Regions from separate parts of the Homo sapiens genome. Here region 1 is linked to region 2. Evidence: promoter capture Hi-C in human tissues and cell types (Jung and others, 2019). All regions are on one chromosome and are shown on one strand. The core of a region is centred on a gene start or on the middle of the fragment in contact, and the rest is flanking DNA. Distances in the headings are between cores, read along the strand shown. Region 1 overlaps WDR27 (WD repeat domain 27). Region 2 holds the start of ERMARD (ER membrane associated RNA degradation).

The links. Contacts are between HindIII fragments. The study calls those that stand out against the background at their distance.
Region 1: a fragment that was not itself captured here is called in contact with the fragment with the promoter of ERMARD in region 2 in 2 of the 25 tissues and cell types used here (IMR-90 fibroblasts and lymphoblastoid cells).

The regions. Positions count from the first base shown.
Region 1 is chr6:169,548,072-169,552,051 of GRCh38, reverse strand. All of the region lies in intron 25 of WDR27 (WD repeat domain 27), which reads left to right. Among named protein-coding and RNA genes, the nearest start is that of WDR27, 150 kb to the left of the region's middle. The HindIII fragment of the contact is 8,324 bases long and covers 1-3,980 here.
Region 2 is chr6:169,749,516-169,754,020 of GRCh38, reverse strand. It overlaps ERMARD (ER membrane associated RNA degradation), which reads right to left and starts at 2,399. Exons shown (of 18, transcript NM_018341.3): 1 at 2,358-2,399; 2 at 1-157. The coding sequence starts at 2,363. DYNLT2 (dynein light chain Tctex-type 2) reads left to right here and starts at 2,449. Exons shown (of 4, transcript NM_174910.3): 1 at 2,449-2,682. The coding sequence starts at 2,563. The HindIII fragment of the contact is 9,893 bases long and covers 1-4,505 here.

The DNA.
Region 1 (3,980 bases), core at 769-3,268, 200 kb after region 2:
CTGTTGCCTTTCTTTGTATGCGGCTTCTCTGCGTGGGACGGAACCCACGGGAGGGTATTGAGTAGATCACTGAGAAAAATCTGACTTCTAAGACAGGGGTTTGCAGATGACCCTGTTTTTGTAAATAAAGTTTTATCAGTACGCAGGCATTCATGTAAGTGTCGACTGTGACTGCGTTCAGAATAGCAGCAGCGGAGTTGCGTGGTTATGACGCAAGCGACCTGGCCTTCAAAGCCAGAATCGTCTTTACTCTCTGGCTGCTAATAAGACACGTTTTTTCTTTTCTTTTCTTTTTCTTTTTTTTTTTTTTTTTTGAGATGGAGTCTCGCTCTTATTGCCCAGGCTGGAGTGCAATGGCGCAATCTCAGCTCACTCCAACCTCCACCTCCTGGGTTCAAGTGATTCTCCTGCCTCAGCCTCCTGAGTAGCTGGGATTACAGGCACCCACCACCATGCCCAGCTAATTTTTTTGTATTTTTAGTAGAGACAGGGTTTCACCATGTTGGCCAGGCTGGTCTCGAACTCGTGACCTCAGGTAATCCATCCACCTTGGCCTCCTAAAGTACTGGATCCTCCTCTTGTTTTAACAGAGTCACTCAGGTTGTTATGTTGAGAAAAAACTAGAGGAAGAGGTTGGACACAGGAGACCAACTAGGAGGTGCCTGGAGTAAATCAGGAGAGATAGTGGTAAGTTCTGTGAAAAACGTAACCCAGATAAGGGGGCCCAGTGAGGGTGAGCGTGGGGTCTCTCTGTGTCTAAATTACTTAGCGAAGTGATTGGAGCCTTATGAGTCCCAGTTCATTAGCTGTAGGGGTGGTAGAAATCAGTTTGTTTACTGTAGTAGTTTCATCCAACTGAAGTATGATTTGTATTTATAAAGTGGGGACTCATTCACCTTTCCAAAATAGCATGAATGGACATGCCAGCTCAAACGCCTTTGGAATTTTATAGTATTTTTCCTCATTTATTTTTCCTTAGAAGAGTTTATGTTCTTTATTTATTTTAATCTATGCCCACATAAAAATAACTCAAAATGTCCAGGTGCGGTGGCTGACACCTGTAAACCCTCCACTTTGAGAGGCCGAGGTAGGCAGATTGCTTCAGTCCAGGAGTTCAAGACCAGCTTGGGCAACATAGTGAGACCCCGTCTCTACAAAACATACAAAAGTTAACCAGGCGTGGTGGCGCATGCCTGTGGTCTCAGCTACTTGGGATGCTGAGGTGGGAGGATTGCTTGAGCCCAGGAGGTCAAGGCTGCAGTGAGCTGTGATTGAGTCACTGCACTCCAGCCTGGGCAACAGAGAAAGACCCTGTCTCAAAAATAAAATAAGGCCAGGTGTGGTGGCTCACACCTGTAATCCCAGCACTTTGGGAGGCTGAGGCGAGTGGATCACTTGAGGTTAGCAGTTCAAGACCAGCCTGGAAATCATGGTGAAACCTCATCTCTACTAAAAATACAAAAACTAGCCTGAGTATGGTGGCACATGCCTGTAGTCCTAGCTACTCAGGTGGCTGAGGCAGGAGAATTGCTTGAACCCAGGAGGTGGAGGTTGCAATGAGCCGAGATTGTGCCACTGCACTCCAGCCTGGGTGACAGAGTGATACCCTATCTCAAAATAAATAAATAAATAAATAATATAAAATACAATAACAATAAAAATAACTCAGAATGACACACAAGCATTAACTGGATCTGTGGGCCCAGTAGCCTAGACTACCATTTCATGTACTCAGTGGACAGCAGTTCCTGGCCTCATTAACCTTCTTGTTGATGCTAGATGTGTTATTTTAGAAACATACAAAGTAACTGAACACTCTTATAACGATATGTGCAGCTTTTCTGAAAGTTTACTTAAACAAATTCTTTTTAAAGAGCAGTTTTAGGTTCACAGCAAAATTGTGAGGAAAGTATGGAGATTTCCCTTGTGCCTCCTGGCCCCCTGTCCCTATCTTCCACCAGAGTGGTACGTTTGTTACTGTTACCATTGTTGATGAACCTACATTGACACATCATCATCACCAAAGTCCACAGTTTATCAGCATTCACTCTTGGTGGTGTGCCTTCTATGGGTTCTGACAGGCCTATAATGGCATCATCCACCATGACAGCATCATAGTGTATGTTCTCTACATACTGTAGTTCCACTGCCTTAAGAATCTGCCTATTCATCCCTCTCTCCTTCCTAACTCCTGTCAACCACTGGTTTCTTTACTGTCTCCATAGTGTTGCCTTTTCCAGGAGATCATAGAGTTGGAATCACACAGCATGCAGCCTATTCAGATTGGCATCTTTCTCTGCATAGCATGTGTTTAAGCTTCCTCTGTGTCTTTTCATGGCTTGCTTGCTCACTTCTTTTTAGTGCTGGATCACACTCTGTCATCTGGATGCACCACAGTTTTATTTATCAGTTCACCTACTGAAGCACGTCTTTGTAGCTTTCATATTTTGCAATTATGAATAAAGCTGCTGTAAACATCCATGTGCAATTTTTGTGTGATGAACAATTTTCAGCTTATTTTGGTAAATACCAAGGAGTACAGTTTCTGAATCATATGGTAAGTGTATGTTTAGTTCTGTGGGAAACTGCCAAATTGTCTTCCAAAAAGGCTGCACCATTTTGCACTCCCACCAGCAATGAATGGGAGTTCCTGTTGCTCCACATCCTCACCAGCATTTGGTGTTTTCCATGTTCTGGACTTTAGCCATTCTCATAGGTGTGCAAATAATCTCATTGTTGTTTAAATGTGCATTTTCCTGATGATGTGATGTGGAGTATTTTTATATGCTTATTTGCCATCGGTATGTCCCTCTTTGGTGAGGCATCTGTTGACATCTTTGGCCCAATTTTTTATCGGGTTATTTTCTTTTGTATATATTAGATAGCAGTTCTTTATCGGATTTGTCTTTTGCGTTTATTTTCTCCCGGTTTGTGGCTTATCTTCTCATTCACTTGACATTATCCATTTCAGAGAAGTTTTTAATTCCAGTGAAGTCCTGATTTTCAGTTATTCTTTCATAGATCATGCTTTTTTTGTTGTATCTAAAAATTCATTGCCATACCCAAGGTCATCTAGGTTTTCTTCTATGTTATCTTCTAGGAATTATATAGCTTTGCATTTTGCAGTTAGGTTTGTGATCAGTTATGAGTTAACTTTTGTGTGAAGGGTGTAAGGTCTATGTCCAGATTCATTTGTTTTTTTGCATGTGAATGTCCAGTTGTTCTATAGCACCATTTGTTAAAGACTATTTTCTTCATTGTATTGTCTTTGCTCCTCTGTCAAAGATCTGTTGGCTGTATTTATGTGGGTCTATTTCTGGGCTCTCTATTCTGTTCCATTGTTCTGTTTGTCTCTTCTTTTTCCAACACAGCACTGTCTTGATTACTATAGATTCATAGTAAGTCTTGAAGTAGGGAACTGTTACCCCTTCAACTTTGTTCTTCTCTTTCAATACTGAGTTGGCTCTTCTCAGTATATGAAATATGAAATATTTCTATGTATATATGAAAGGTCTTTTGCTTTTCATACATACAGTGTGATGTTTCAATACATGTATACACTTTATAATGATCAAATCAGGGTAATTCACATATCAGTCACTTCAAACCTTTATTATTTCTTGGTGTTGGTAAAATTCAGAATCCTCTCTTCTAGCTGTTTAAAAAATACAATAAATTATTGTTTATTATAGTTTTTTTGCCTTTCTATGTAAATTTCAGAATCATTTTGTTGATATACACAAAATAATTAGCTGCACTTTTGATTGGGGTTGCACTGAATGTGTAGATCGAATTGGGAAGAACCGACACCTGGACAGTATTGTCTTCCTATCCATGGACATGGAATAGCTCTCCATTTATTTAGTTCTTCTTTGATATCCTTCATTAGAGTTTTGTCATTTTCCTCATATAGACCTTGTACTTATTTTGATAGATTTATACCTGTTTCATTTTTGGGTTGCTAATGTAAATGATATTGT
Region 2 (4,505 bases), core at 1,150-3,649:
AGCTCACACAGTCTGTGATTGTTTTCCAGCATACTTCACCATTCTGAGTTACAATGCTATTGATATCACAATTTTCTCTGAGTTGAAACCCAAGATTACAAATTATATCATACACTGAGGGAGAAAGACATGTGGTAATAGGGTCCCCTATTAATACCTAAAAAATAAAATAAAATAAAAGGCACTGCTTAACAGAAAGAAAAATAGAGTATTATATATTTCAGACACATCTCTTAAGAACTGAATGCACTCAGGTATAGTTGCTGTTAACATGCTTTCTGGATATCGTGAGAGCTGTATGATTAAAACATAGTGATTAAATATTAAAGATAATTTACATAAATGTTCTCAAATATGATAAAGGCTTAAAGACCTAAAATTATCAATCATAATATTTGCAAACTGCTCTGTCTATGGGGTAGCCATTGTTTATTCCTTTACTTTCTTAATAAACTTGCCTTTCACTTAAAAAAAAAAAAGAAAAAATACAAGTTCACGGAAGCTGAATGTGTTTTACGACCAGAGCATTATTGCTCTCAGCATTCCTTCACTATCCCAGAGTTATCAAAATAAGCAATTTTTTTAAATGGGGAATGGGAGAGCAGAAACCAAGTATAACGAACAAGAAGGAAAAAGAACCCCACGTACCTCTGACTACCTAAACGGTGTTGAAGAAAACCACAATGTCATCCCAAAACATGCCTCTTCGATATAAAAACAACAACAAATTTGAGCTGAAGACAAGAGGCAGCAAATGAAGGAAAAGCTCTCTCTATCCTCCCCCTCTTCCGCCCAAAGACAGGATATAAATTCTTTACTGGGGATAACTTTAGACTTACCAGACCAGTTAAGGTACCAGGGGAATCTGCAAACAATTCTTACTCCATTAGTTTCCGAATATGTATCTACCTTCCCAATTTCCTGCCCTTTGAAGCCTAAAACTGCTCTCCTGTGTCCTGTCACTTCTCTGCAAATCTACAGTTCTTTGTTGAAGATGGTATACAAATGTAGTTCTAAGCCACCATTTCAAGTTACTTCTCATTAAGGTTTATCCCTTGTGATGTGTACTCTGTCCAAGAATAAACTTTTTTCTTGTTATCCTTTCATTTGTTAAAGGGGTCACTCCGAACTAAGATGGGCAGAGGTAAAGTTTAGCCTTCCCTGCCATGTAAAAAGTAGCAAACCGTACTGGTTTTCCATGGAGAATTAAATACAATCGAAATCCTCACAATTACCCCACATGACACTAAGACCATCGTATAAACCTGCAAAGAAGTCAAATTCAGGATCTAAAGCGGAACCGAAGCTCTTTATTTTGGTGTGTTGAGTTAAGGGGGGGCTGTGTTGTGACAGTCATAATTAGCTCTGGGCAGCTTCCTAATGTGGAAACTGCTATCAGTTGCCCTGTTTGCTCCTCCTGCACCCAGAAGTTGCACTTTCCACTCTCAGCCCTGGTTTTCGAACAATCCCAGCAGGCCCTAACAATTAAGTCATCACTAAAGAAATCTACATCAACTATTTGTTGATTGGCGATTGTCACTCGCATCCTCCATGTGGCTCTATGGGGCTGGAACTCTGCAGACTACACTGGGCCGGTGCTTTGGAGCTGGACTTAAATTTGAATCATTCCTCAGCCTCTGACTACCTCTTGCCTTGGAAAAGTTACTTTATCGGAATCTCAGTTCTAAGTGAAATAAAACGGTGCCAGGCTGCACCTGGTAGGGCTACAGTAATCAGATAACACATGAAAAGCATCTAGCACATAGTACTCAAAAATGGTAGTTATCGTTATCATCATTTTGGAGACGGGGTCTCGCCGTCGCCCAGACAGGGGTGCAGTGGCGCGATCTCGGCTCACTGCAGCCTCCACCTCCTGGGCTAAAGCGATCCTTCCACCTCAGCCTACGGAGTAGATGGGACCACAGGCCCCACCACGCCCGGCGATGAACACAAATTTACTGTCCGAGTGTGGACCCTACAGGCAGCGACTAGGAAACTGCGCTTCTAGGAACGAGCCACGGTCAGGTGAGAGCCCGACCTGCGGCTTTCCGCCCCCGCGCCACCGCGCACAGCCCTCCCTGACCGTCCGCCGCGTTCCAGCTCAGGGCCAGGAGGCGACGGAGAAACCGAGCCTGGCCCAGGGAGGCCGGCAGGGCCCGCCAGGCGTCTTGCAGGGCCGAGCGTCCGATACCGCCACAGAGGCCAGGGCCGCGACGTCGCCAGCGCCCTCCAGCGCGGGACCGCCGGCCACCGCAGGCGCGTGCTCGCTCGCCCACTCCGCGTAGCCGAGCACCACCCAGCCTGGCGCCGACTCCCTGCCTAGCTCGGGATCGAACCGGGCCCTACACCCGCCCTACCTCCATAACTTCCGGTGCCCCGCTGCGGCGCGCGTGAATGACGCAGGCGCCTGCGCGCCCCTCCTCCAGGCGCTTTGGAGCCCTGGCGGGCACTTCCTACCGTACGAGGCGCAGGTGGGAGACTTCCGCCCTCGCGGGACTGGCTAGGGCGTTTGACCGCCGGCGGTGAAGGGGAGGCGGTGGGCGTCTTGGAGAACAGAGCGAGATGGAGAAGCGAGGCCGAGGCGTGAAGTCGAGCCCCATCCAGACCCCGAACCAGACCCCTCAGCAGGCTCCGGTGACGCCTAGGAAAGAAAGGAGGCCTAGCATGTTCGAGAAGGAGGCAGTGAGTGCGGAGACTGCTAGGGGCCCGAGACGGCTATGTCCGACCGTTTAAGTGAAATCGCTCCCCAGTGGGCCCCGCTCCCGTCACCACCCCCAGAGCCAAGGAGGCAGCATCTCCCTTTTGTGTTTCTTTTTTCCCCAGATGCGAAATTGAAGCCTGAGACTGAGTTGGGCAGTCCCCTTTGGACTTGAGTGCTAAAGTTTTCTTGTTTTTTAATTAGGGCCATAGAACCCTACATAAGTCGATTGGAAGGGTGGTTACAAGATCTTCTTTTCAAATTTACTCAGCTTGCGGATTTCCTGAGAGTACTCTGAGTATTATTGCTTTGTACTAAAACACAGTATGTTAGTGTATTTAGTGCCATTATAAGCAGTTTTGCTAGCGAAAAATGAGTGTGTTGTATTAAAAAAATAATTTGATAAACCAGGCAGAATAGTGCCATGTTTTGGGTTTTTAAAACATCAGCAGTCTGGATATTTGAAGAATGTACAGGAGAAAAAAACTTAAGTTGAAAATACCCTGTCCAAAACTTACTGATATTGATGGAAAGGGTCATTATTCAGTTTTATTGGTGGTATAACAGGTATTTCTATATGATTAGGCTTTGAAAACCGTTAATGTATTAAAGACTCTATATTTTATTGATACTTTAACAGAAAATTAGTTTGCCCAAGGATACAAAGCTGTAATGATAGAGCTGGGACCAGAACCTGTATGCTAGTACTCGGTCCAATTGGCCTATACTGGTTTCTCTTCGTACTTACTTCGTGGACCTATAATAGGATGAAGATAGAGATGACAGGCAAAACAATTTTTTGAAGACCCTAAAACATTTTAAGATTACTCTTAAAAAGAGAATTCTCAAAATAATGGCGAAATTTCAGGTTCTTGTTTCCCTGGTGTCTACATTTTACAGAGGAAAGAACGAACTAAATAAAGGAGGAAAAGCAAACAGGCCAAGTTTACACAGCTAAGAAAAAGAGCAGAGCAGGGCTAGAAACCTAAATCAGTTGGACTTAAAACTTCACACTCCCAAACACTATGCTGTATTTCTTGGCAATGAGTCTGAGTAACAGGTCACCAACAGTAAAGAAAAATTTCTATATATTGAGGCAGACAAGGGTGGCTTTTATAAACTTACTGCCTATCTGAGGTCTGAAGTGGTCTTTAAAATTCAATGAGCCTGAACTCAAAATGAGGAGACACATAGGTGCACCTGGTATATAGGTTAAAATCTGGGAGTGAGGGGACATGGACCAAAGTAATTATTAGTATTTGATATGGATGTGATCAATTATAGCTATCTTTAAAGTTGATTCTTTTAGAGGTGAGAAATTTGAATAGAACAATAATTGGGAAGAAATTGAGAAAGGACTCTACAAATGCTCACTAAATGTACCTGAGGAAACTGTTCACTTAGTTATTTCTAATTTAAGGTAGCTGTTAATTTCCCTATTTTGGAGCATAGGAAAATTTAAGACATACTGTTTCATCAATATGACCATCTCTTGATTTTATCTGTCTTGCCTCCATTTCTTTTTTTCTAGTGGTAGCACCTCAGTTAACTTTTAGAGAATTAACTCATCTGCAATTGTATAGAGCTTTGGTGAGATTGTCAGCTACTTCCCTTAACTTTTTAATAAGGATGAGACCCAAACTAAGCTAATTAGATGAATTCTTTGAAATAATGCAAAGAAAATGATTGAGGTTTATTCACATTGAAGATGAGAAGCTAAAGTGTTCCCTGTGTCTTTCTGAATCTGGTTCATCAGCCTTCTCTGCTGTTATGTAAACTGTATCTTTCCAATAAATTATACTTTGGC